Linked DNA regions of Homo sapiens: all the other regions are linked to region 1. Evidence: promoter capture Hi-C in 16 types of primary human blood cells and fetal thymus (Javierre and others, 2016). All regions are on one chromosome and are shown on one strand. The core of a region is centred on a gene start or on the middle of the fragment in contact, and the rest is flanking DNA. Distances in the headings are between cores, read along the strand shown.

Region 1 (2,700 bases), core at 121-2,620:
TCTCGCTCTGTTGCCCAGGCTGGAGTGCAGTGGCATGATCTCAGCTCACCACAACCTCCGCCTCCCAGGTTCAAGCAATTCTCCTGCCTCAGCATCCCGCGTAGCTGGGACTACAGGCACGCACCACCATGCCAGACTAATTTTTGTATTTTTAGTAGAGGTGGGGTTTCACTATGTTTGCCAGGCTGGTCTTGAACTCCTGACCTCATGATCCACCCACCTCGGCCTCCCAAAGTGCTGGGATTAGAGGCATGAGTCACTGAGCCCGGCCTGACATAGTAATTCTTTAAACCATCCTTCCTCAATGTGAAGCTCCTGGTGTATTTTCACCAGCTTCTCTCCTCCCTCCTCAAATCCTGGCTCAGTTTAGAATAACTACTCCCTTCTATCCTGTCTCCTCTCATCCTTTGCTTTCTTTTGAGAAAGAACTCTGAACGTTTTCTTTTTCTGAGATCTCTCCAGCTACTCTTCACTTTTTCTCCCCTGTTCTTGGTCTCCTCTCCTGTTTCTTTCCAACCCTCTCCATCTTCCCCACCCTGTACATTTTTTTTTTAACTCCCACTCCTCTTCCCCACATCTATTCCACTCTCACACTGCTCCTCCTTGGTGTAATAATATTCCTTGTCAATGATAATCTTCTCTTCCACGGTGTGGGACAGCAGCTCAAAGGAGTTCATCACCTCGATATTTCGGCCCTCCTGCTTGCCAATCAGAGCCCCAATCACTGGGAAAGAGAATGACATGGAAAAGGTGAGGGTAAAGAAACTTCTATGACCTGAGGGTCTGAGATCAGTGGGAACCATGTATTGGGGAAACGATGATTTGGGGGAGGGGGAATTGGCTCCAGTAGAGGAAGGGGAAAAGACCACTGCCTGGGGGAGGTGAGCAAGGAGAAGAGACTGGAGTCTATGCCCAACACTCACCCTGCACAGGCCGCCCCTCCTGGGAGCGCATGCGGATCCAGTGGTCTGAGATGTTGAGAATGACAAGGGGATGGAGAGCGACGGAAACACTCCCAGTCACTCCGCAGGCCATCACGCTGGGGACTACTAAGGGTGGAGGGAAAGGAGAGAGGGTGAGAGTCCGGGCCCCACGTTCTTCCCTGGAGATGGCAGTGGGGGACGGCGGAGCCCGGGCCACACTTTCCTCCCGTAACTTATCCCAGGGAAAGATGTTGCTGCTCCGCCCTCCTCCCTTCTCCCGGGAGCACAGGGAGGCCTCAACGAACCCCTGAAGGAGGTCTCCGGAAGCCACCCCCGCACGGCCCGTTACCTGCTGCATCCACCTCCATCCCGCTGCTTCCTCCGGTCCCGTTCGTAGCTGCAGCCGCCGCCGCCGCCGCCGCCATTTTCCCCGCGCCCGCCAGCCTCGGCCCCGCCCCCTTCCTTCCCGGCTTCCGTAAGGCGAGCGGCGCATGTTCGGTGTCCCCGCGGCGTGCGGCGGGCCTGGCGTCCGGGGAGCAGGCAGTTCCCGGGTCGCGGCGGGCGGCACTCGGTGCGGGGACGCCCGACGCCCTCTGGGCCTCGGTGCCTAGCGGGTTTTCCCAGACCCTGTCCCCGCCTGTCGCCTGCGGGTGACCTTTGACAAATTAACGACTTGATCGTCCTCGTCTGTGAAATTGGGATAAGAACGCCTAGTTCTTAAGGCTGTTGCAGAAGGAATGACATGTCGTGTTATTTCCCTCACAATAAAATCCAAACAACTAACCACAACCTGCAAGGCCCTGCCTGATCTGGCCCCGGCCTGGCCTCTTCTAGCCCTTGATCTTCAGGCTTCAGCTGCACTGGCCCTCATGTCTGGTGGTGGTGGTGGTTTGTTTTGTTTTGTTTGAGACAGGGTCTCGCTCTGTCGCCCAGGCTGGAGTGCAGTGGCCTGATGTCAGCTCACTGCACCCTCAAACTCCTGGGCTCAAGTGATCCTCCCAGTTCAGCCTCCCGAGTAGCTGGGACTACAGGCGCACCCCACCGCACCCAGCTAATTTTATTATTTGTTTTTATTTTGATAGAGACGGGGGTCTCACTAGGTTGTCCAGGCTGGTCTCCAACTCCCGGGCAGAAGAGATCCTCCATCCTCAGCCTCCCAAAGCACTGGGATTACAGGCATGAGCCACCGCACCCAGCTCTCCGTGTGTTTTTCACATGCTTTAGTTTCCCATTCAAAAGCCTGTGGTTCCTTCTCTTGTTCATCATGGTATCCCCTGTGACCAACACGGTGCCTGACACATTGGAGCCTAGATACTTTTTGAGTGAATGAAGGAATAATTAGGGGTGGAATCTGGTGTTGAGTTAGTTGCTCCATCTTGTGAAAGTTGCAGATACCAGGACAAAATCACATTGTCAGGTCCAAACAAATTGGAGCCATGAGAACACCAAGGAGAAGGTCTCATGCTTGCATGTCTGAGATAGGAATTATCTCAAGGACTTTCGAAAATAACCCCACAAGGCCAGGCATGGTGGCTCACACCTGTAATACCAGCATTTTGGGAGACCGAGGCCAGACAATCACTTGAGGTCAGCAGTTTGAGACGAGCCTAGCCAACATGGTGAAACCCCATCTCTACTAAAAATACAAAAATTAGCCAGGCGTGGTGGCAGGCGCCTGTAATCCCAGCTACTCAGGAGCCTGAGGCAGGAGAATTGCTTGAACCCGGGAGGTGGAAGCTGCAGTGAGCTGCGATCGCGCCACTGCACTCCAGCCCGG
Region 2 (2,700 bases), core at 58-2,557, 540 kb after region 1:
AATAGGCTTATGAACAGAGACCATGGTAGCAGGGATAGAGGCTGTGCGTGGTCCCAACAATATGGGCTACCTCTTATTTTTCTTTTTTTTTTTTTTTTTTTTTTGAGACGGAGTCTCGCCCTGTTGCCCAGGCTGGAGTGCAGTGGTGTGATCTCAGCTCACTGCAGCCTCCACCTCCCAGGTTCAAGCAATTCTCCTGCCTCAGCCTCCCGAGTAGCTGGGACTACAGGCACACACCACCGTACCCAGGTAATTTCTGTATTTTTAGTTGAGACGGTGTTTCACCATGTTGCTCAGGCTGGTCTCGAACTCCTGAACTTGTGATCCACCCACCTCAGCCTCCCAAAGTGCTGACATTACAGGTGTGAGCCACCGTGCCCGGCCAATATGGTCTACCTCTTACCAAGGCTGATGTAACTCTCACCATGGTGGAGTGTCCAGCCTGCCAGCATTAGAGACCAACACTGAGTCTTAGAGATACCAGCTACCACCAGGTTGAGTGCATCAGATCCCTTTTACCTTGGAATGGGCATCAATTTGTTCTTACCAGAATTGATATATGCTCTAAATGAGCTTGTCTTCCCCAACTACTTTGCCTCCAGCAGCACCACCATCTGAGAGCTTACAGGGTGCCTTATCCATTGACATACCTGAAACTAAGGAACCCACCGATAGCCAAGGAGGTGTGACAGTGAACTCGAAGCTACAAAATTCATGGTGCATACTCATCATCCAGAAGCAGCTAGCCAGATAGGGTTTTGGAATGGCCTGTTGAAGACTGGGCTAAATTGCGATTAAGATGTAATGCCTTGCAAAGTTGGGAGCAGTTCTTCAGAATATGGTATATGCGCTGAAATGCATTGGGCCAAAATGGATATATAGTATTGTGTCTCCAGTAGGACTATGTGCATACAGGAGTAGCCTCTATTACTATCACACCCAGCCACTCACCTGTAGAATTTGTGCCTCCTCGCTCCGAAATCTGGAGCCAGCTGGGTTATGATCCTCATTTCCAGGAAGAACATTTCCTCTAGGAAACATTAAATCGTGCCACTGAACTGAAAACAGAATACCACCAGGCCACTTTGAGTTTCTTGTGCCAGTAGGTCCGTAGGCAAAGAAAGGAGTCGTTATAGAGATGCCTACAATTCCTGCCACACACACAACATAAATACAAAATCATATACCCAGTCAACTGCATTCAGTAATCTGCCTTCCTGGACCCTTTAGGCACTTCAGTGTAGGAATGGGGACGGGTGGGGAGGAGAGACTTTAGACAAAGAAGAAAAATACAGTGTGTAGCAATGTAATGACTCTTAGCGATGACTTGGAACCCTGGAAGGAAATATGAGGATGTATCTGGAGGAATAAGTTGAGACTATGATGTCATCACGGAGGACTGTAGGTTAGAAAGCCAGCCAGTGATAAAGGAGCAAAGATTGGATTTGACGGTGCCCTAGGAGGAAAAAAAAAAAAAAAAAAATATATATATATATATATATATATATATATGTGTGTGTATATATATATATGTGTGTGTATATATATATACATGTATATATATGTGTATATATATGTGTGTGTATATATATGTGTGTATATATATATATGGAGCAAAGATGCACTTAAGTGGATTATTGAGAAGACTCGTGGGTAGGTAGAAAATGGCAACCATAGCAAGATCAAACCCCCTAAGGAATGGAGCATTAGTGAGGGTCTAGAAGGTAATTCGGGATACCACGTAATCATAGGCTCTGTATCAGGTAGCCGTTCCTTTTGTAGGCTTTTATCTTATTGGGCTGTACCACAGACTTGCCCAGAACTTTTAGAGTCATGCCCCAGCCATTCAAGGTCTCAGTTACTGTTTTATAAAAGGTGAAGTTATTCTTGATCTAATCATAGAAGCCCTAATTATTACAATAACACTTGGACAGCAAAAACGCCTCAAATTCAACTTATTTCACCGTTGCTAATCTGAAAACTCCCTGGAAACATAAGGCAAACTCAGAATTTTATAACTATCTAGTGTTGGAAAGAACGTCTGTTGCCTATAGATCAAGTATTTGAAAATACTGCCCATTCAACTGGCAATACGTACATAATCAGCGTCTCAAGAGACAATCCCTTCGATTTGTGAAACCATTTATTCTTGATCTTCCTGTCTCCACCCTCGTTTCATTCAGCTCCTCTGCCACAGACAATCACTATTTTTATTGTAACTATTACAATTATTGTCATCAAGAAAAATAGAAGGAACATATAAATATCTGAGCAGGGCGGTATAAAGGGAAATTCATCCCTTTTTCCCCGCCCTGTGCACCTCCTCGGAGCGGACAAGCTGAGGAGCAAGATCCCCAAACCCGAGATTAGAGCCCTACACAGGGATGCAAAGTCCTCCCGCGATCCTAGAGAGGACCCCGAAGCGGAGCGCAGCTCCGGAAGGCGGGTGTGACGCACTTCCGGCTTTTGTGACGCTTTCCCTGGGCTCTGAAGGCCAGGGGGCTTGGATGTGAGTCTAGTGCTCCTGGTCCCCAAAGTCACAACCCCTTCTATCCCAGCATCCCAGACTTCTCCGGGCGGGGACAGAGTTGGACGTGCATGGCTGTGTCCTGCAATCCCCTCGCCACGACCGCCCGGGACGGAGTGGAAGCGGGTCCGTGCCCCCGTTCCTCGCGCCAGCCTCGGCGGTGGCAAGCGCTG
Region 3 (2,700 bases), core at 101-2,600, 680 kb after region 1:
CAAGAGGCCGATCCCAATCTAAATAGCAAAGCGTTTTTCAAACCACACAGCATTTCCTTGCTGCCAGAGAGAACCCAGGTTAAGTATTTACCTTTCAGCATAACAGATTCATCTCTCTCAAATTCATTCAGTCACTCCCTTCTGTACTGACACTTTACAAAGACCCACCCCCCCCCCGCCCACAGAGCCTCCTCTCATGAACTCTCTAAAACAACCATATAGAGGAGGAATCAAACTCTATAAGGTAGAATCAGGGTCACACAGCTGAGAATTTGCAAAACCTGACTCTGGAGGGCTCCTGACTCCCAAATCAGTGGTCTTCGCACTAGTCTCCCCTACGCTGAAGCTAAAAATAGGTGAATTCTGGTCTCGGCCCCAAGGCGCATAGTCTGTGACAAGAGAATGATCGCTTTTCTACGACCCAGGGAAATTCGAGGGCCCTGATCCAGCCTGGAAGTCAGAAGAGGCCTCTCGGAGGTGAAAATGGTAGGCGGTAACCAGATCGAGGAGAAAGAGGACGTAGGAGGTAATCAGATCGAGAAGAAAGATGTGCCGGGAGGTGTAAGAGAGATTGGGGCGCTAGGGGAAGGAGGCGAGGAGGAGCGAAGGAAGATAGTGCAGGATTGTAGGGAAAACTCATAAAAAGGACAGCATCTGAACCCAGCTTAGAAAAACAATCAGAACACAGAAGACGTTCCTACCAGAGGAAACGGCGCGAGAATCCTAGAGGAAAACCCCCAAATCTACCGTCCCCTCAGAAGAACGAACGTGGCGCCGCCTCCTCTCGGGAGCTCTCTCCGGCCTCAAGGTCCAAAGCCCGAACACATCCCAGTGGCTGGCTGAGAGTCCAGCCACTCATATCTCCCTCCAGGACGGTGCAGACCACCGGTCTCCCGCCTCAGCCGTTGCCAAGGTAATCGAGAACAGAGGGAAAACACATACCGGAAGCTCCTGGAGCTTGGGTAGCTGCTTCTCGACAGAAGGCTTCCGCTCTTCAGGCGATCTCTAAGGCATGAGGTCCTTGCGGAGCCCCGCCCTACCCGCGCGGAGATTGCGTCATCTTAGGTGTCCTCAGCAATGCCTGTATAGAATTCCAGAGCCGCTGTTGCCATTTGCCCTCACTTCCGGTGGGTGGCAGGCAGGGCCACGCGTCTTCCCGAACGGAGAGACTAGGGGCGTTGTTGCCTGGCAGCAGACGGGCAAGCCTGGACTTAGGCGGCGCGCAGGACGGTCCGACTTCGTGCGGAGGCCTCCCTGAGGTCCGGGTCCTTGCGGCCACTGCGGCCACTGAAGCGGCGGCGGCGGCTGGCCCAGGAGGAAGAAGTCGAGCCCAAGCTATTTCCGGTTCCGGTGTCAGTTCGAGGCGCCGCCGCCGCCGCCGCAGCCGCCGGAGCCGCAATGCCTAAAGGAGGTGAGGGGCGGGCGCCGGTGGCCCGCAGGCCTGGAGGGGCGGCCCAGGTCCGGCTTCCGCTGTCCCCTCAGCCCGTGCGCGTCTCTGAGAGCAGCGCAGAGGGAGGCTGTCCGCACCGGCTGAGAGCCAGGCCTGGGCCTCGACGCCCAATTGTCCCGATGGGGAAACTGAGGACTGTGGTGTCCCAGAGTCACTCCGTCAGTGGTCTGAGGAGTTTCGGAAGCTCTGGGTCCTCGCCGGCCTAGAAAGCCGGATCTAGGATGCGCTTCTCCGGGTCTAGGGGTTCTGGAATTTATCCCACTCTTTGGCTGGCTAGGAACTGAGTCACCGCGTCCCGCGCTTGTGCCGGGCCCGCCTGCCTCTCGCGTAAAACGTGGGCTTTTTCTGGCTTCGGTTCAGCCAGGCCTGCCTAGGAGGACTTAAGGAGATGCCCATGAGCCTTCCAGACCTGGTTTCGACTCCCCCGTTCGGTAGCGGCTCGGTGTGTTCCTTTGAGCCAGTCGCTCCACCTCCTGTGTCTCCGTTTTCTCATTTGCCAATGGGAATAACGATTGTACCTACCTCTTAGTACTGTTGGGAGGCTTCAACTAGGTAATCCACGTGGAGTGCGCAGTACAGTGCCAGGCAGTCGTTAAAAGTGCCCAGTGAAGCAGTAACTATTCTTATTTTTAAGGCTTTGCCAGCTCTTGATCTTGTAAGTAGGTTCATGACTGCCCAGTCCATTGTAGCCCGTCCTCTATCTTCTAGCCCGTTCTCTATCCTGTTTCCCCCTTTAGAATCGATAGTCCCCAGTTTGAATCCCAGCTATGTCACGTCTAATTCTGTGGCCCTGAACAAGTTAACCTCTTCCTCATCTGAAACACTGGGCTAATCCTTAGCTTGTTGAATTGGGGCCGGGGTGGTAAAATTATAGCGCTCATAAAGTGCCTGGCCACCTCCTGGCACAGAACAAATATATTTGTGTTGGTAGCTCATGTGTTATATTGGTTAATGCACTCAACCCACAGAAACATCTGCCTGTAGCGTTTTCAAACCTAAATCGCTTCCTGACTCCAGAGATAATTGGGCATTACAGAGCTAAATGTGTTTAAACCTAGCTCTCTACTGATTTATTCTGTGGCTGGAAAAGTCTCTCTGCTATTGTTCCCCAGTCCCTTCATCTGTAAAAGGAGGTTGCTGAATGAGCCATCCTCCCTCCGAAGTTTTACTTAATGGATACTTTGGGTAAAGGTTGGAGGTTACAACGATAAAACCTTAAATATGAATTCATAGCTAAATGGTCTTTGGGC
Region 4 (2,700 bases), core at 195-2,694, 630 kb after region 1:
CTGTTTGAAGCCCTTCCCCAGTAAACAAGTGCGTCAAGTCTGAGTGAGACACTTGGCACCGTCACACCGCTCTCCTTCCACATCCCCTCTTGTACGTTCTCCAGCGACACATCCCCAGGGTTGGACAGGGCACCCTCATATTGGCTTCAGGGACATAGGAGGGCCAGTCCTGACCCCACGTTGTGTGTGTGACTTTGGTCACGTGGCCCAACCTCTCTGAGTCTATCCCCCCTCCCCTCCTTTAAGGTAAAGACATGAAGTGCTTGTTGTGAAGATTAAATAAGCTAATAATGTCAAGTAAATGTTAGCTTTGCAGTAATCTTTCCTGTCCGCCACGTTACTGCTTTTTTCGAGACCCTTTTCTGGAGTTACTCCCAGCAAGCTGTTACTCAGACGTCCTGTTGGTTAATAAAGCTGTCCCTGCAGCAGTTCTGCTATTGTATAGACTCAGTCTTAAAATAGTGGGCTTGATGTGACATATTTCTTCATAATATTGTGTATGTGCAGCCTCTGTGTAATTGCATTATGCACCTTTATTGCATAGTTGAAGCAGTGGCAGGAAAGGATGCCATATGTGTTACTGGGAGATTATTCAGTGGGTATTTTTTCTCACTCTTCCGTTTCAGTACCAGTGAAGGACAAGAAACTTCTGGAGGTCAAACTGGGGGAGCTGCCAAGCTGGATCTTGATGCGGGACTTCAGTCCTAGTGGCATTTTCGGAGCGTTTCAAAGAGGTCAGAGCCTTGTGGATGTCTGTAAATGAAAGCAAATCTCTGGGTCTTCAGATCTCTTTTTTGCCATGAATTAATTTGGGCAATGAAGGCCTTGTTGTCTGAAAGCAGTAAGTTATGTAGAGGATGACAGGGAGGGATGCTAGGCCTTGGACTTCTGTGGTTGATTGGCCCTTTCAAAGGCTGGCTCTGAGATATTACAGCCAAGAACATGTTTCCTGTTGCTTGGAATCAGTATGTCTGCCTCTGTCTTAGAGAAATCCTAAGACTTCTTTAAGAGGAAAATGAATTGGAACCGTAGTGGGCATTAGTCTATAATATGATGCTCTCCTCCCTGCCAGAACTTCAGGACAAATATTTGAAATGGCCTATCTTGGCCTGGTGTGGTGGCTTATGCCTGTAATCCCGGCACTTCGGGAGGCCAAGGCTGGAGGATTGCTTGAGCCGAGTTTAGACCAGCCTAGGCAATATGGAGAGACCCCATCTCTATAAAAAAAACCACACAAGAAAAATTAGCTGGCTGTGGTGGTGCATGCCTGTAGTCCCAGCTACTCAGGAGGCTATAAGCTCACAGCCAAAGGGGAGAGGTGGAATCCAGGTAGGCCTAGTTCAGGAGCTGGTATGTGCTTATAGTTCAGGCTATGGGGATGAGAGACCTTACTGGCATTTGTGCTTGTCATCTTTATCAGCCAGTGAATGCAGGGCGAGGGGCTTAAACAGCCAGAGCAGGACTAGGTCCCTGAATGTCAGCCAGACTCAACTGTGTGCTCAACTTCACTCAAATGTGAAGCCCAGCAGGGCAGTGAGCGCCTCTTGCGTTTGCAGGTTACTACCGGTACTACAACAAGTACATCAATGTGAAGAAGGGGAGCATCTCGGGGATTACCATGGTGCTGGCATGCTACGTGCTCTTTAGCTACTCCTTTTCCTACAAGCATCTCAGTGAGTGCCTCTGCGGCGTCTTGCCTTTAGTTCCCATGAGAGGGTGGTGGTGACTGATTTCATTAGATACAGCAGCCCACCTTCTTCTGAGGCTGAGGGACCTTTAGTTAAAGTTCCTTATGTTTCCACCTAAAAGAATTGGAGGGACCTATCAGAGTACAGTATGTGGGATATTGTTTGAAATGAGAAAATTGTGACAAAGAGAACACAGGAAAATCAAGATGAAGCCAGGGTAAAGAGAGTACTTAGAAGCATTCTTTAAAATACAGCACACTGTGAAAATTTGGCTCGATTTTCCTAGTAGCCAATGCAGAAAGAGAAATGAGTTGAGTGGGATAATCTGGTACCCCAGAAAAGCATGGCTGTTCCGGCTCTGAGGCTTGAGAGGAGCTTGTCTGGTGGGAGATTGGCGGGAGGTGTCGGTGGCAGCCTCTGACTAGGCTGTTTCTGACAGTGTAGTGTACACCCCCTACCCCCACCTCACTCCCATTCTGTGGCACCAGGGCGGTCCTGCCTCTGAAGGACGGGTTCTCTGGGGCTGTTTGTCTGAGCGTGTGTTCCCTCTGTTCCTTCTGGAAAGAAAGTGGTTGGCCAGGTGGCAGGTTGGCTCCTGAGGTGTCTTTGTGCCCCCCGGGTCTGCTGATTCTGCAGAGACACCGGCAGGCGGGTCATGGGTCATCTCTGAAGGGAATTCTCAGGAAGGCTTTGTGTGATCTCAGCCTGCTTCCTGCCATGCTGTGCCTTCACTGTAACCTTTTAAGATACTTACCATCTTGCCTTCCTGACTTCAGAGCACGAGCGGCTCCGCAAATACCACTGAAGAGGACACACTCTGCACCCCCCCACCCCACGACCTTGGCCCGAGCCCCTCCGTGAGGAACACAATCTCAATCGTTGCTGAATCCTTTCATATCCTAATAGGAATTAACCTCCAAATAAAACATGACTGGTACGTGTGCTGATTGCCTGCCTGTCTGCCGTAGCCATTATCCCATGTTCCAGGGGCTCCTGTGGCACAAGGTGGGGG
Region 5 (2,700 bases), core at 53-2,552, 790 kb before region 1:
CGAGCTGGGTGGATTACCTAAAGTCGAGAGTTCCAAACCAGCCTAGCCAACATGGTGAAACCCCGTCTCTACTAAAAATACAAAAATTAGACGGGCGTGGTGGCAGGTGCCTGTAATCCCAGCTACTCGGGAGGCTGAGGCAGGAGAATTACTTGAACCCCAGAGGCGAAGGTTGCAGTGAGCCAAGATTGCGCCATTGCACTCCAGCCTGGGCGACAGGGCAAGACTCTGTCTCGAAATAACAATAATAATTTTTAAAAGTTAGGCGGGCGTGATGGCCTCCCCCTGGAGTCCCAGCTTCTCAAGAGGCTGAGGCGGGAGGCTCGGTTGAGCCCGGGAGGTGGAGGCTGCTACGACTGCATCAATGCACTCCAGCCAGGGCAGCAGAACAAGACCCCATCTCAATAACAAAACAAAAAAAAGCAAAAAAGCACGCTTTTCGTGCATGTATAAACAGTGCTTCTTCATACTCAAACTCTTAGCTCTATAGCTCTGATCTGCAGAGAATTTCAAAAACCAAGCCACAGCTAGTTATTTGGCCAACAGCAAATAGGCTGAACCACAGAAAACGGTCCAATGAGCCATTTCATAGGATTCGCCCTCATAAAAATTACAAGGGGGAGAAAGAAAAGCGACGCGGGTGGAGTGAAACGGCATGAAACGGGGACAAGATGAAGTTAAAAACGGCTCACCTGTCATTCCAATCGTCCCCTCGACGTCTTTCATCTCTCTCGCGGGAACGGTCGTAGTCGCTGCGCTCTCTTCTGAACTTGTCCCTGCGCCTTCGATCGTACTCGTCATCACTGTCACCCATGGCACGGTCTGAGGGGGCCTGGGGACCGGGGAGAGGCGGTAGGAGTGGTGCAAAAGGACGAGCGGAGGAAGGGACCGTCCCTCGCGGGCAGCTCGCCCGCTTCCCTCCCGCCAAGGCCAGCCCTCCGCGGCCCCCACCATCCTAGGCCTGAGAACGCGGCTCCAACACCTCCACTCGCCCCGAGTTTCTCCGCGCCCGCCCCCGTGGACCCCGGTTCCTCTCCCGCCCCAGCGGGGCCCCCCAGGCTCCTCCCCTCCCCCACCTTGGTGCGGCCGCGGCCGTTGGACTCGCGCTCGGACGGGCTAGATTTCAGGGCGACCTGGGTCGCGGGCGCGCGACGAGGACTTCGAGGAGGGCGAGACGGAGACGGAGCTCTTGAGTAGAGGGCCGAAGAGAGGCGAACAAAAGTGGGACAACCGGGGATGGGCAGTAGCGCGCGCAGCCCGCGCTGCGCCTGCGTCACCCACGCCTCCGAGGCACAAAGCTCCACCCTCGCGGCCGGAACTGGAACTAACAAACCGAGCGCGAAGGGCGGGGAGAGCAGGGCGTGATGGGAAAGGGGCGGGGATCTCGCAAGTCTCGCGCGGCTTTTCGAGACGATAACGGCTCGAGCGTTAGGAACTACGGGACCTCGGCTGGGCCAAGCGCGGCCTCGGGAGGCGAACAAGCCCTCTGGGCGCGAAGGGAGAGCGGAAGTCGAGGATCGCGCGACCCCAGATGTGTCGGGGTCCTAAGACGGTTCTCATCCAGCCATGTTCCCCCCACGGGCCTCCTGACCTCACCGGGGGTGATTTCGTCCCCTCCTCGGGCAGGGCGTGGGCTTGGGAAGCGCGGGCGCTTAGGGGATGGAAGGTGGAAGCAACCATTTTAAAGCATCGTATCCCACCATTTTCTGCTCCAAATATCCAGCCAAAATTGGGTGCCACAGTGCGCACTAAATGCAAAGTCCGCCGTTCCTGCTTTTCCTCGACAAAGACGCCCCGTCTTTAAGTAAAATTGGCAGATCTCAGTCTTAACCCCGCTCAGTATTTGGATGAAATAGGCTGTAAGTTAACGCCCTAAACAGAGTATGGACCGCCCAGATTCAATGGATTACCACCCCCGGGAGTAACACCAAGGCCCCTCTCAGTGAATTGAGTGTGAGACTTAATAGGAAGACCAGCTGAGATGGCTCACGCCTGCAATCCCAGCGCTTTGGGAGGCCGACGTGGGAGAATCACTTGAGCCCAGGAGTTGGAGACCTGCCTGGGCAACATAGCAAGGCCCCTTTACAGAATATTTAGGGCCAGGCACATTGGCTCACACCTGTGATCCCAGCACTTGGGAAGGTCGAGGAGGGAGGACTTAAGCCCAAGAGTTCAGGACTAGCCTGGGCAACATAGCAAGATCCCATCTACACACAAAAAAATAATAACTGGGCTTGGTGGGATGCCCCTGTGGTCCTAGCTACTGGGGAGGCTAAGCCAGGAGGACTGTTTGAGCCCAGGAGTTCAGGGCTGCAGTGAGCCTTGATTGCACCACTGCACTCTAGCCTGGGGAACAGAGTGAGGCCCTGTCTCAAAATAGATACATAGAGGAAATCTTGCCTCCTCCCTGAGGCGTGCTTGCTCCCAGCACTGAGAGGAGGGTAGTGACGGATTACAAGAGTTGTCAAAAAAAACTGGACCTGAGTCAAAAAGACCCAGGTTCCACCATTTAAGAACCATGCAATCTGGGGGAGTCACCTCTCAGCTCTGACATCCTCACATGTAAAAATGCAGACAGTGGCCAAGGGCGGTGGCTCACGCCTGTAATCCCAGCACTTTGGTTGGGTGAAGCGGGCAGATCACTTGAGGTCAGGAGTTCAAGACCACCCTGACCAAGGTGGTGAAACCCCGTCTCTACTA

What was found. The method cuts DNA at HindIII sites, captures the fragments that hold promoters and counts their contacts. A CHiCAGO score of 5 or more calls a contact.
Region 2: a contact is called between a fragment that was not itself captured here and the fragment with the promoter of COPS6 in region 1, in 1 of 17 cell types (erythroblasts). The highest score is 6.2, in erythroblasts.
Region 3: a contact is called between the fragment with the promoter of PDAP1 here and the fragment with the promoter of COPS6 in region 1, in 2 of 17 cell types (M0 macrophages and erythroblasts). The highest score is 6.1, in M0 macrophages.
Region 4: a contact is called between a fragment that was not itself captured here and the fragment with the promoter of COPS6 in region 1, in 1 of 17 cell types (non-activated CD4 T cells). The highest score is 5.6, in non-activated CD4 T cells.
Region 5: the fragment with the promoter of SRRT here is called in contact with the fragment with the promoter of COPS6 in region 1 in 1 of 17 cell types (naive CD8 T cells); the score reaches 5.5 in naive CD8 T cells.

What each region holds. Positions count from the first base shown.
Region 1 is chr7:100,087,639-100,090,338 of GRCh38, reverse strand. COPS6 (COP9 signalosome subunit 6) reads right to left here and starts at 1,370. Exons shown (of 10, transcript NM_006833.5): 1 at 1,273-1,370; 2 at 924-1,049; 3 at 593-724. The coding sequence starts at 1,348. RefSeq lists enhancers at 1-972, 479-1,170, 2,557-2,700 and a silencer at 1,321-1,510. The HindIII fragment of the contact is 8,452 bases long and covers 1-2,700 here.
Region 2 is chr7:99,551,883-99,554,582 of GRCh38, reverse strand. It overlaps FAM200A (family with sequence similarity 200 member A), which reads left to right and starts at 2,469. Exons shown (of 2, transcript NM_145111.4): 1 at 2,469-2,700. It overlaps LOC105375422 (a long non-coding RNA gene), which reads right to left and starts at 2,418. Exons shown (of 3, transcript XR_927801.4): 1 at 2,099-2,418; 2 at 952-1,058. The HindIII fragment of the contact is 4,575 bases long and covers 1-2,700 here.
Region 3 is chr7:99,407,247-99,409,946 of GRCh38, reverse strand. It overlaps PDAP1 (PDGFA associated protein 1), which reads left to right and starts at 1,350. Exons shown (of 6, transcript NM_014891.7): 1 at 1,350-1,411. The coding sequence starts at 1,399. It overlaps BUD31 (BUD31 spliceosome associated protein), which reads right to left and starts at 978. Exons shown (of 6, transcript NM_003910.4): 1 at 702-978. It overlaps MIR12119 (microRNA 12119), which reads right to left and starts at 775; the gene lies at 683-775. RefSeq lists an enhancer at 922-1,311 and a silencer at 1,522-1,581. The HindIII fragment of the contact is 3,476 bases long and covers 1-2,700 here.
Region 4 is chr7:99,458,120-99,460,819 of GRCh38, reverse strand. ATP5MF-PTCD1 (ATP5MF-PTCD1 readthrough) reads left to right here. Exons shown (of 9, transcript NM_001198879.2): 2 at 627-734. ATP5MF (ATP synthase membrane subunit f) reads left to right here. Exons shown (of 4, transcript NM_004889.5): 2 at 627-734; 3 at 1,557-1,673; 4 at 2,465-2,625. The coding sequence ends at 2,493. Among named protein-coding and RNA genes, the nearest start is that of ATP5MF, 6.7 kb to the left of the region's middle. The HindIII fragment of the contact is 4,032 bases long and covers 1-2,700 here.
Region 5 is chr7:100,873,705-100,876,404 of GRCh38, reverse strand. SRRT (serrate, RNA effector molecule) reads right to left here and starts at 1,302. Exons shown (of 20, transcript NM_015908.6): 1 at 1,077-1,302; 2 at 693-832. The coding sequence starts at 814. RefSeq lists a silencer at 821-1,050 and enhancers at 1,191-1,250, 1,461-1,510, 1,087-1,752, 1,753-2,417. The HindIII fragment of the contact is 10,507 bases long and covers 1-2,700 here.